Regions from separate parts of the Homo sapiens genome. Here all the other regions are linked to region 2. The links are contacts of gene promoters, found by promoter capture Hi-C in blood cells and fetal thymus (Javierre and others, 2016). All regions are on one chromosome and are shown on one strand. The core of a region is centred on a gene start or on the middle of the fragment in contact, and the rest is flanking DNA. Distances in the headings are between cores, read along the strand shown. Region 1 overlaps CDK14 (cyclin dependent kinase 14). Region 2 holds the start of GATAD1 (GATA zinc finger domain containing 1). Region 3 has its middle 14 kb from the start of PTTG1IP2.

Evidence for each region. The method cuts DNA at HindIII sites, captures the fragments that hold promoters and counts their contacts. A CHiCAGO score of 5 or more calls a contact.
Region 1: a fragment that was not itself captured here is called in contact with the fragment with the promoter of GATAD1 in region 2 in 3 of 17 cell types (naive CD4 T cells, fetal thymus and non-activated CD4 T cells); the score reaches 10.2 in naive CD4 T cells.
Region 3: a contact is called between a fragment that was not itself captured here and the fragment with the promoter of GATAD1 in region 2, in 4 of 17 cell types (naive CD8 T cells, total CD8 T cells, total CD4 T cells and 1 more). The highest score is 11.5, in naive CD8 T cells.

Annotation. Positions count from the first base shown.
Region 1 is chr7:91,085,796-91,089,695 of GRCh38, forward strand. The region is part of intron 12 of CDK14 (cyclin dependent kinase 14); the gene reads left to right. Among named protein-coding and RNA genes, the nearest start is that of FZD1, 180 kb to the right of the region's middle. The HindIII fragment of the contact is 5,564 bases long and covers 1-3,900 here.
Region 2 is chr7:92,444,959-92,448,808 of GRCh38, forward strand. It overlaps GATAD1 (GATA zinc finger domain containing 1), which reads left to right and starts at 2,524. Exons shown (of 5, transcript NM_021167.5): 1 at 2,524-3,020; 2 at 3,794-3,850. The coding sequence starts at 2,772. RefSeq lists a silencer at 2,444-3,213 and an enhancer at 3,644-3,693. The HindIII fragment of the contact is 4,596 bases long and covers 614-3,850 here.
Region 3 is chr7:90,454,131-90,458,105 of GRCh38, forward strand. No RefSeq gene overlaps it. Among named protein-coding and RNA genes, the nearest start is that of PTTG1IP2, 14 kb to the right of the region's middle. The HindIII fragment of the contact is 4,367 bases long and covers 1-3,457 here.

The DNA of each region.
Region 1 (3,900 bases), core at 1,132-3,631, 1.4 Mb before region 2:
TAAGGAAGAAATCAGTTTTTATCTCTAGCACAGAGGAAAAAGAGATTATGCTCAAGAAGGCCGCTGGCCTCTGAGGTAACTGAAAGTTTGGCCCGACATTTCTAGGTCTGTGCTGACAAATGCAGTAGCCATTAGGCCTCTGTGGTTCCAGGGCACTTAAAATGTGACTACTGTGATTTAGGAACTGAATTTTTTTACTATATTTAAATGTAATTAACAAGAGTTAAGGGCCACATGTGGTTGGTTGCTGCCATATTGGGTGACACAATTCTAGATCATTTAAATGCTCGTCAGTGTAATACAAATGTGGATGTCTGCTGCTTTGGAAACACTACACTAAAGAGTCATTGCATTTTGCACTCAAGTGTCCAGAGATCTTGCTTTTTATTTTTGCTTCTCACCCCTATCTTTTATTTGTAAACACCCTGAGTATAATAGCTCTGGAGTACCCAATAAGCATAATAAATCTGCAGGGGGAATAGTGGAAATATCAAAGAACATCAAGCAGACATTCCTTTCCCTGCCTCCTCCCCTCCAGAAGCCACGCTGTTCCCTCCTGAGGGGCGCAGCCTGTTGCAAGTGTCTCTATTCCTTTCTCCTTCTTGTGTTGTCTCTCTCTCTTTTCTGTTGGGAACTGTTAGGGGTTAGACACACAGCTCTCTACCCTTTTTGAACTCCCTTAAGAATTCACCTCTCTGCTGTTGTTCCCGATCTCCTTGATCTCCCCTAACTCTACTCAGAAAACACCGTAAAGGCTCAGCTTCCTGTTCATCACATATGAGATGCTATTGAGAGGGGCTCCATTTTCTAAATAAGCCTTCCAAATAAAGAGCTGATCCAGGTCTTCCTCACTGGGCCCCTGTGGGTGTGTGTGTGTGTGTGTGTGTGTATATATCTTAATTCTTAAGTTTTAGGACATTGAAAACTACCACATTTTACAAAGTGAAGCATGAACAGAAATGCAGTCATTTTTACCTCTCCTTATGTAAAAGAAACACATGATATGTGATACCTTTCCTCAAATTTATTGATATCATTTTCATTTGATTAAGAAAATATTTACAAATTTAGTGAATGTTCAGCCTCAAAATAAAGATGAATATAAGAAGTCACTGGAGAAAAACACTATTCGCTTTTAGCGTTTTTGTTTTGTTTTTTTGCAGCTTTATTGCCCAGGCTGCAGTGGCATGATCATGGCTCACTACAGCCTTGACCTCCAGGGCTCAAGCAATCCTCCCACCTCAGCCTCCCAAGTAGCTGGGACTATAAGTACCTACCACCATCCCTAGCTAAGAAAGAGATGATTTTAACAACAATGTCATCCCTAGTATCCACTGTTACCCATTCCACCTTCTACTTATTTGATTTTCATGAAACAATATATCCCTCTCTTCATTTGGGGAGACTTTATAATACTGGGGCTCAATTTCTATTCATTGTGAGGATAGAGCTCCTAGAGTATTCTTATTAACACCTGCATCTAACATGTTGTGTACATAGTGGTCTTACTGACCTAAGAATATACCATCAATAAATAGTATTGACATAGCAAAGAAAAAAACAGAAGAGAGGAAGGAAGGTTGCACAAGCTAATTATTGACACAAATAGCAATTAAATGCTTGGAGCCAGCATCATCTTTGGTAGCATAGGAACCAGGTTCATCCCTAGTTCCACTACTGAGCTGTGTAATATTCAGGAAGCTCATTAACCTCTCTGAGCCTCAGCTTTTCAATTTGTATAACCTCTTGGCAGGATTATTGTTTAATCTTTAAGTAAGGTAAGGGTATAAATTACTGGGTACCTTACTAGACACAGTCCTTTGGCAAATATTAGTTTACCTCCCTTCTCTTTTTCAGTGCTCCCTGTCCTACCTCCCAGTGAGAGCGTTTCATTCAGCTCCGAATAAGCAATTACTCTTGAACATGGATACCACTCCTACATAGAGTCCCCAGACATCTTCTGGAATATTCTTTTTACCTTCTTAGGGGCACATGCTGAACTGCTTGGTCACCAAAACTTTTTTTTTTTAATGCTTGTTGTGTAAAAACAAGATTTCCCCTTCCTCAACAGTTTCTTCCTAAGAGTGGTGTGTTAACAAATAGCGTTGTACATAATTAATGCAATACTGTGATTTGTTCTTAGTCTTGAAACACATTTTATTAGACAGTTTTCCAAATTAGATTGAAAGAAACCCATAGACAGGTCACTGTTACCAAGTTCAAATGTCTATTGGACCTTTTCTTGTAATATAACCTGTACACAAACTGATGGATAACCCTAAGCCAGATGTGTGGGATCTGGGCATCCATTTGGCCCAGTCATTTCAGAGGTGAGACTAAAAGTAATTATCCTTGCTGTTTACAGCATTTAAAGGGGGAAGGTAGATGAATTATCTCTCAAAACACAATGAATAAAGGCTGGGAGCATGGCCATGCCATATCTGTTGTGGTGAGGAAAATGGGAAGGGGATTCTGAAAGTAACTGGCCTTTTTCTTTTAGACACTGAGCCACATCCATACCCTAAGGCACAGATCCCATGTTAAACGGTTATTTCCATCATGGCAGTGACATTTACTTTAACAACAGATTTCATTATGTCTTTAACAACAACAAAAATGCACTGAAAAGCCTGAAACACACACATACACAACTCCCAACACAATTATTTTTCTGTCTTCTCTGAAAGAATATTTTAAAATCATTTCAACATCTTTGGGATTTCAGAAAAATCTAGTATTGGTTTACAATGGAAGTCTCATAGAGTTTATATATATGTGTGTGTGTGTGTGTGTGTGTGGTTATTATTACTCAGACTATAAATGAGACAAATGAATAGAAATATTAAAGGGATCAATATTCTGGCCCTCATTATATTGTTATACAGCATATCTTTGTGTATCTCTATGTGAATTCTCTGCTAGTCCTCAGCTGTATTTAATCCCTCAAGACTTGATATACAAACATAATGCCAAATAGAGAACTTCCCTTAAATTATTCAAATCTCCCCATAAGTGATTTCCCACTCTTCCTGCAATAGAAAACATTTGATCATAAATTCAATTAAATCAGCCATCATCTTTGTGATGTTTGTCCAGCTAAATCCTTTAGTGACTAAACCAATAAACATACCAGCTGTGAGTGTGCATGTGTGTGTGTGAGTGTGTGTTTATGGCACAACTATTGCAAAAGAATCGATTTGAAGTAAAGATGAAGGGTAGTTCTCATTTCTTAGGCCAGATTTTAACTACTTCACTGAAGCCAGGGCTTAAAAGATTAAACTTTTAGGGATAAAATCATGTGTACTTCTTTAAATGCTTTGGCTTTTATTTGCTAATTTAGAACTGAGTTTTAATAAGTTTTAGATCAAAACTGATGTACTTTGGAGATGTTAGGAAAAGGCATCAAACCACGTCAACCATTCTTCCTTCTCTTTCTTCCCCAGCCTCTCCTCCCTAGTTAAAACAAAGAAAAAATGACTGTCGACATACTTTTAAGTTTCTCAGGGAAAACGGCATGATAGGACTATATTACTGTTTATAATTTCTTATATGTCTGTCGGCTGAAGAGGTAAAGTTTATCAGAGGCTTATAAATGTTGATTGCTTCTCATCTTGATTCTAAAGCCTTTTAGACACGCAGATATACCCAACCTCCTCCCCTCTTTTTCATCTTACCTTTACTAATGATCCTATTTGGATATAACTGAACCCTATTTATGCATCTTCACATATGTGTATATCCATGTGGCCTGTAGAGGGCAGCATGCTCTGAGGGGAAAAAAAAAAAAAAACAGGCAACTGTTTATCTCCGTAAAATATGAGATACGCAGCTATATATATATTTTCCGATAGCAAAACAAGTAAAATGTCTCTGTTAGAGAAGCCAGAGCTGCCCCATGCT
Region 2 (3,850 bases), core at 1,274-3,773:
GCAGTGTCTTGTAGTGGAGAGGAAGCTGGTGAGTTATGGGCCAAAGTTTTCAGTGAATGAGAGGGAGTCACTTGCAGATGAGTTGCAAGGAGAGGTATATGTTCCCAAATGGAGAGACATTCAGGAGCATGGAAATCAAGTGCCTAGATTTCCTCACACTGTAGGTGAGGAGAAACTTCCTCCTCACCTTTTTTTTTTTTTTTTTTGATGGAGTCTCTCGCTCTGTCGCCCAGGCTGCAACCTCTGCCTCCCAGGTTCAAGCAATTCTCCCGCCTCAGCCTCCCGAGTAGCTGGGATTACAGGTGCCTGCCACTACACACAGCTAATTTTTTGTAATTTTAGTAGAGATGGGGTTTCGCTATGTTGGCCAGGCTGGTCTTGAACTCCTGACCTCAGGTGATCCACCTGCCTCAGCCTCCCAAAGTGTTGGGATTACAGGCATGAGCCACTACGCCTGGCCTCTTCTCACCTCTTTGGTTCTGTAGCTGGGCATGGGAATTACACTAACATAAGACAGATTTACTGGAAAAGGCATAAAAGTTTTAATATTTTTGTACATGCACAGGAGGCTTTGTAAGAAAAATAAAGACCCATAGAAGTTACTAGGCCCGAAAGCTTATATGTCCTTTTAAACAAAAAATAATAAATTGCAGGGATGTGACAAGACAAAGGGGCTTGGGCTAAGGCTGGCAAATTGTGGGAAAGTGACGAAGAACCGTATGTAGAAAGTTAATGGAAAATATGGGTTACAAATTTTTGTAAGGTTTTGTTTGTAGATTCTTCTCAGTGGCAACTCTGCCTCTGGCAATAATATTCTCCTCTTCCTGGTACAGAAAGGGCACCTTTCACAAGGGAACTTTTATGTTCCGCTTCAAACAGAAAGAGGGTGGTCAGACAGCCTTCCCTGCATCTGTTTTTGCTCCATTGCCTCTGGCTCAGAAGAATCAGTATGCCAAAGTGGCATATTTTAGGATGGCAGGCTCTAAACACCTTCAGCATTGTTCTAAAGTGAGACAACACTCTTTACCTAGTCTCCTCAGCCACTTTTACAGTTGGCCCTAATCCCCATAACAGTCCTGGAAACTTATTTTTACTGTTAAGGAAACTGAGATTTAGAGGGGAGGTGACTGAGCCACAACCCACACCCCAGAGGGCTGTTCCAAAGCCCTCCTCGAAATTGGTGCCAAGGGCAGCAGCTATAATGACAGCCAGTCCACATAGAAGTGCCTCCGTTGATCACCAATTAACAGTAAAATCTGATAATATCTCATTCCAAGGTTGTTATAAGCACTAAATGTGGTTTTGTGACATAATAGGCGTTTGTTTCTCCCCACTGCTTCCCACCACAATATATTCATCAAGACCTTTCCAAGGATACTAAGTCTAGGAAACCCAGGATCATGAAGAGAGGGCATGTTCTTCCAAGTGAGGCTGAGGAGAGACTTGTCTGGCGAGGCCTGTACTGACTAGTGACATTAAAAGAGGCGATCTGACTTCTCATACTGCTCTTGTCCCAGGCCTGCTGTTTGTCAACTGCTGGGTCCTCAGAGCCAAAACTGTTTTCCAACAGTTTTGAATTGAATAACAGCCAGCTATTCGATTTTCTCCGCATTCTCTAATCGGTATACTCTTCAGAGTCCACAGGATTTGCAACGATATTATCCAACGGCTGAAGAATGTGCGCTTGACATCTTAGGCTGTAAAATGTCTCAATTTCAATTTCTAATACATAGATGTCAGTGGATGGCATTTTCTGAACCCTTTGTCGATGTCCATAAACGGCATGCTCTGAATTCAACTAAACAAAAGTATAGACATGGGGGAGGTGTAGGGCGATGTCCAAAGTATAATTTTTAAGAGTGTAAAGGGTTCCTAAGTAAGATTGCCAGATTTTTTTTTTTTTTTTGAGACGGAGTCTCACTCTATCCCCCAGGCTGGAGTGCAATGGCGCGATCTTGGCTCACTGCAGCCTCCACCTCCCGCGCTCAAGAGATTCTTCTGCCGCAGCCTCCAGGGTAGCTGGGATTACCCCAGAGCCCGCCACTGAGCCCGGCTAATTTTTGTATATTTATTAGAGAAGGGGTTTCACCACGTTGGCCAGGCTGATCTCGAACTCCTGAGCTCAAGTAATCCGCCGGCCTTGGTCTCCCAAAGTGCTGGGATTGCAGGCGTGAGCCACCACGCCAGACCTGGATTGCCAGATTTAGCACATAAAAATACAGGACCCCCAGTTAAACGCCTCTCGGATAAACCATTATTGCATGGGATACACTCACGCTAAAAAAATTGTTCGTCGTTTACCTGAAAGTCACATTTAATTGGGCGTCCTGTATTTTACCCGGCAAATTCTAGGCCTGAGACCAAAAAGTTTGAGAACCCTGCCCCTAGGCGACAGCAAGCGGAACTGCAGCAAGCTCCCAGTAATTCCGGGTGCTGCACTTCCGGTCAGGCGGTCGGGCTGCGGGGCCCTGGGGCCAGCTCACCGCCGGAAGTCTCCGCGTCCCCCCCACCCCGGCCAGATCCCTTTCCCAGTCCTGCTTCCCAGTGCCTCGGGCCAGGGAATCCTGGCCTCCGCCTGCGGAGCCGGCGGAACCCGCTTCCCGCCTCCACGGGGCAGCGCCAGCGGCCTGGTCCTTTCACCGGCAGCTCCGTGCCGACGCTCTCACCGCTCTTCCTATCGCCGGGAGTGGCGGGCCGACCAGGGGGCGGCCGGGCTACCGTCCGCCATTCCCGTGTCTCTGCGCCCGCGGGGGCCGCCCGAGCCGGCCACCATGCCGCTGGGCCTGAAGCCCACCTGCAGCGTATGCAAGACCACGTCGTCCTCCATGTGGAAGAAGGGAGCGCAGGGGGAGATCCTCTGCCATCATTGCACTGGCCGGGGCGGCGCGGGCAGCGGGGGCGCAGGCTCGGGGGCGGCTGGAGGGACTGGGGGCAGCGGCGGCGGCGGCTTCGGCGCGGCGACCTTCGCCAGCACCTCCGCCACCCCTCCGCAGAGCAACGGGGGCGGGGGCGGCAAGCAGGTGAGCTCCTCCGGCCCCTCCCGCCGGCGGAGGCCGACCAGGTGCTAGGCGGGCGGGGACGGGCTGGCTGGGAGCGGGCGGGCGCGGGCTTCCCCGATCGCCGTGCTCCTGCTGGCTGGAACGCCCCTCCCCACCTCCTACTGAGATCTTTCGTTTGGCCCATTCCGAAGCACCTGTTATTGTAAGAAATTCAAAGCAATAAGAACCAAGATGTAAAGCCCTTAAGAAAATCTCAATATACACATGTCTACACAGTCGTATACAGTGTCATGCCACAAATGCAGGCGCTGGACCTCATTCCTTGTTAAAGGTTTTGTCATATCAGGTTATGAAGTAAGATTATTATGTCATTATTGTAAATGGCAGCTTAAGTATTCCGTTGCAGGGGGCGCCATAACCTACTACGTTCTCTGGCCTTAGGGAGTAAAGTTGTTAAGTGTTTTTCTCTATTGTAGACACAACAAATGAATAGTGTTTGTCTTGGTCAAGACTGACTCCTACTCCCGCCTCCTGCCCTATTACAAGCAGCTCACACCTTTTGGAGGCTCTGGAGACGCCTGTCCAGCGAGCTCCGAGATTCCGGGTGCTGAACTTCCGGTTTTACTTAGCCTAGTTGCTGTAATTACTTCTCTTGAAAAGCAAAAGGGCAATCTTAATTGTTAAATGCTCTTATAAAGTACATACTCTGGGATCCTTGTAAGATGATTGTACTGCAACCTTTATGCACTTTTTACTTCTTTCTCTTTTTGTTCTTTAATTTGTTTGTGTAACAGAGTAAGCAGGAAATTCACAGGAGGTCTGCTCGGCTCAGAAACACTAAATACAAATCT
Region 3 (3,975 bases), core at 24-2,523, 2.0 Mb before region 2:
CTGTTGGACTACATTCAAGGGCTTTCAGTGTTGACTTTAGTACTACTTTTGAAGATAAACATAACTCTTCACTTTCATTTAAAGCCTTTGTAAGAACTTTTAACGCTGAAAGAAAAGATAAGTGAGCTATTATTATTCTTAAAATATACTTCAAATTTTATTTTTAAAAGGCAAACTGTGGGGATTTTTCTCTTATTATTTAAATTTGTTTCTCATATAAACATATAGCCAGGAATCAGGAAAAATGATCTTGTTTGCTTTATTGTTGTATTTATTGTATTCAGGATTGGAATTTAATGTATTGAATTTCGATGGAATTCATTGGGCATAAGGCATAACATAAAATAGAGTACAGTTGCCATTTTTTCCTCCAGCAAAATTTTAAGTCATGGAGATAAATAATGAGTATTCATTTATTTATTCAAAAATATGTATTTATTAGTTCCTCTTAAGTACATTTTTTTGTGTTGGAATACTTACAACCATGGATGAGACATTTAAGAACTCAATCTGTACATAAAATAGAAGAGAGGACAATTCATTTTGTGAAGGGAAGTTATGCTAACTATTCACTAGCTGCTATGATTTCGTCATGTCCCCCAAAGTTATGTGTTGGAAATTTAATTCCCAATGCAACAATGTTGAGAGGTGGGACCTTTAAGAGGTGATTAGGTCATGAGGGGTCTGCCCTTATGAATGGATTAATGCCATTATCTAGGGAGTCGGTTAGTTATCATGGGAGTAGGTTCCTAATAAAAAGGAGTTTGGCTCCCTTTCTTCTCTCACATGTGTGCTTTCTTCCCCTTCTGCCTTCTACCACGGGACGATGCAGCAAGAAGGCCCTTAACCTTGGACTTTCTAGCCCCCAGAACTGTGAGCCAAATAAATTTCTGTTCATTATAAATTACCTAGCCTCAGGTATTTCACTATAGCAGTACAAAACAGATCAAGACACTGGCTAACCCTCCAAATTCATTCTCCATCCTTCTCTGCCCTACGTCGACCTACAGATTGCATTATCTGAGTTTCTTTGCTCCTCTGACTTTGGGAGAATAGATAGTAGGAGAAGAGAAAGATTTGGGTATTTATTCCCCCTACTCGCTCAGCCAAACTATGTTTCCTTTACCTTATGACCACAGCTTCTTTTGGGCAATCCTTCAGTTCTCTCTGATTTCAGCCCTTCCATTCCCTGCTCTGTCTCTTCAGTTGCAGGGATGGTAATAGCTTCTCTTCGTTGTTAGTCACTGGGTGCTTCACCGTCCTTGGTTATTGTTACTCTTGACACACCTCTGTATTTAGTCCCTTCATTGAATTCTCTTCAATTAACCTTCCTGCTGGGCTGCTTACTGTCACAGACAGGAATATGGAAGGTAAAGGAAGAGAATACAGGGATTTCTTTACCTTCAAATTTTCAGCACGTAGATCGTGATAGATCTGAACAAAGCTACTATCCAGATAAAAAACATGCAATTTCTGTTGCTGCCAACAGATGGCATTAGTAGTCATAGTTGGTTATTTGGGGCCATGAAGTGTTCCGTTCTTGACTCTGTTAGCTGCTTTTCTCTATTTTTAGAAAATGTTTTACAAATATTAACTCCATCCACACCTGATAAATGCAAAACAGTAAGAGTATTGGGAAAAGCTATTTTAGCAGGCATACATTTGTTTATGATAAAGCCAAGAATAGAGATTATTCAAAACAGATGGAAAATAGAAAGAAAAGAACAAAGTTTGCATATGCACAAAGAATGAACTTTTGAAAACAGGAATAATTTTAAAGGGACAGAAAAGCATTGTGTCTAATTGTTATGGACTGAATTTTGTCCTCTCAAAATTCATTTATTGATGGACTAATCCCTAATGTGGCTATATTTGGAGATAGGGCTTTGAGGAGTTAATTAAGGTTAAATGAAGTCACAAGAATGGGGCCCTAACCCAATAGAACTGGTGTCCTTATGGGAAGAGGAAAAGACAACGGGAGTATATGTGCACAGAAGAAAGACCACGTGAGGACACAGCAAAAAGGTGGCCCTCTGTGAGCCAAGGAGAGAAACCTCAGGAGAAACCAACCCTGCCAGCAATTTGATCTTGGACTTTTAGCCTCCAGAGAAGTAAATTTGTGAAAAATAAATTTCTGTTGTTAAAGCCACCCAATCTGTGGGATTTTGTTATAGCACCCCTAGCAGACCAATACACAAACCCGTGGACAGTAATCCCCAAGAGACTAAGTGACTAAAGCAATGAAAAACATAGTATTTGCATGTGTGGCTAAAGGCTCAGTATTAATATCAAATGCTTATTAGCATTAGGAGAGGGCTAGGAACTTGTTCCAAAACTGAAAATGCGGAATGACCCTGGTGGCGTCTCCCATAGCTGACTGGATGGTTATCGATGCTATGAATCCAATTAGGAAAACAGGGGAAAGAACGAATTTGATGGGGAAAATGAGTCTGACTTGGGGCATACTGAGTTTGAGTTGTCTTAAGGACATTCAAGTAGAGACTTCTGAAAGAACTTGGAATATTAGACCAGAATTAAGGTGATAAATGATTTGGGGATAAAAATTCAATTGACACATATGGTTGGGTTTTAGTTTTAGTTTTTCTGAGACAGGGTCCCACTCTGTCACCCAGGCTGGAGTGCAGCATTGTGATCTCGGCTCACTGCAACCTCGGCCTCCCGGGCTCAAGCAATCCTCCCTCCTCAGCCCCCCAAGCAGTTGGGACTATGGGTACCCACCACCACGCCTGGCTAATTTTTATGTATTTTTTGTAGAGACAGGGTTTTGCCATGTTGCCCAGGCTGGTCTCGAACTCCTGGACTCAAGCGACCCGCCTGCCTCAGTCTCCCAAAGTGCTGGGATTACAGGCATGAGCCACAGTGCCTGACCTAAAACATATGTATTGAGCACCTACTGTGTGCTAGGCACTGTCTAATGCTTAGGTTACCTCAGTGAACAAAAGAGGCAAAAACCCCTATCTCATGGAGCTGAAATTCTACTGGACAGGAGAAAGAAAAAAACAAAAAGCAATAACATAATGAGTATGTTATACAGTATTTTAGGAGACAATTCAATGCCTTAGGGCAACAGAGCATGCCAAGGGAATTGGAGATGCTGGTGTGAGGAGGTACAGGTTGCAATATTCTCTAACGTCATTCAGATTAGGTCTCATTGAGAAGATGGCATTTGAACAAAGACTTGAAGGTAAAAGAGGTAGCCGAGGGGCTGTCTGAAAAAAGTGTGGTCCAGGAGAGGGAATAAACACTGTAAAGGCCCTAGGGTGACAGCATGCCTGGTGTATCAGAGAGACAGCAAAGATTCCAGCAAGGCTGTAGCCTAATGAAAGAAGAGGAGAGTAATAGTAGATGATGACAGAGGCACAAGGTGGAGGAGGTGTCAGGTCACTCAGGCTAAGTCTTTTGTAAGGAGTTTGGGTATTACTCTGAGTGAAATGGAAGCTTCCAAATAGAGGTGTTACCAGGTCTTTCATTTTAAAATAATTACTGGCTGCTGTATTACCAATAAGCAGTGAGAAGAAGGAAGGGCAAGGGTGGGAGCAAGGAGACCAGTTGGGGCACAATTGCAGTAACAGAAGAGGAGGTAGAAGTTTGCTAATTCGAAGGTAGAGGTGATTTACTAATGAACTATATGTGGAGTTTCAGAGAATTAAAGGAATCAAGGATGACTTCAAGAGTTTTAAACTGGGAAACAAGAAGGATAAGAAAATGGATTAAAGAAAAGATCATAACTTTCAAAAGTATTGAGATGTTTGTTGCCATCTATTTGCATATGTTGAATAGGCATTCTGATATGTTTGACTGGATATTAGGAGTGAGGTTCAAGCTAAAAATATAAATTTGGGAGTGAGCAGCACGTGGATGGTATTTACAGCCATGCTATTAATTGAGATTACCAAGATAATGAATGTACTTAGAAAAGAAAATCAAGGATTCAGTCGGGGTCACGCCAATAGT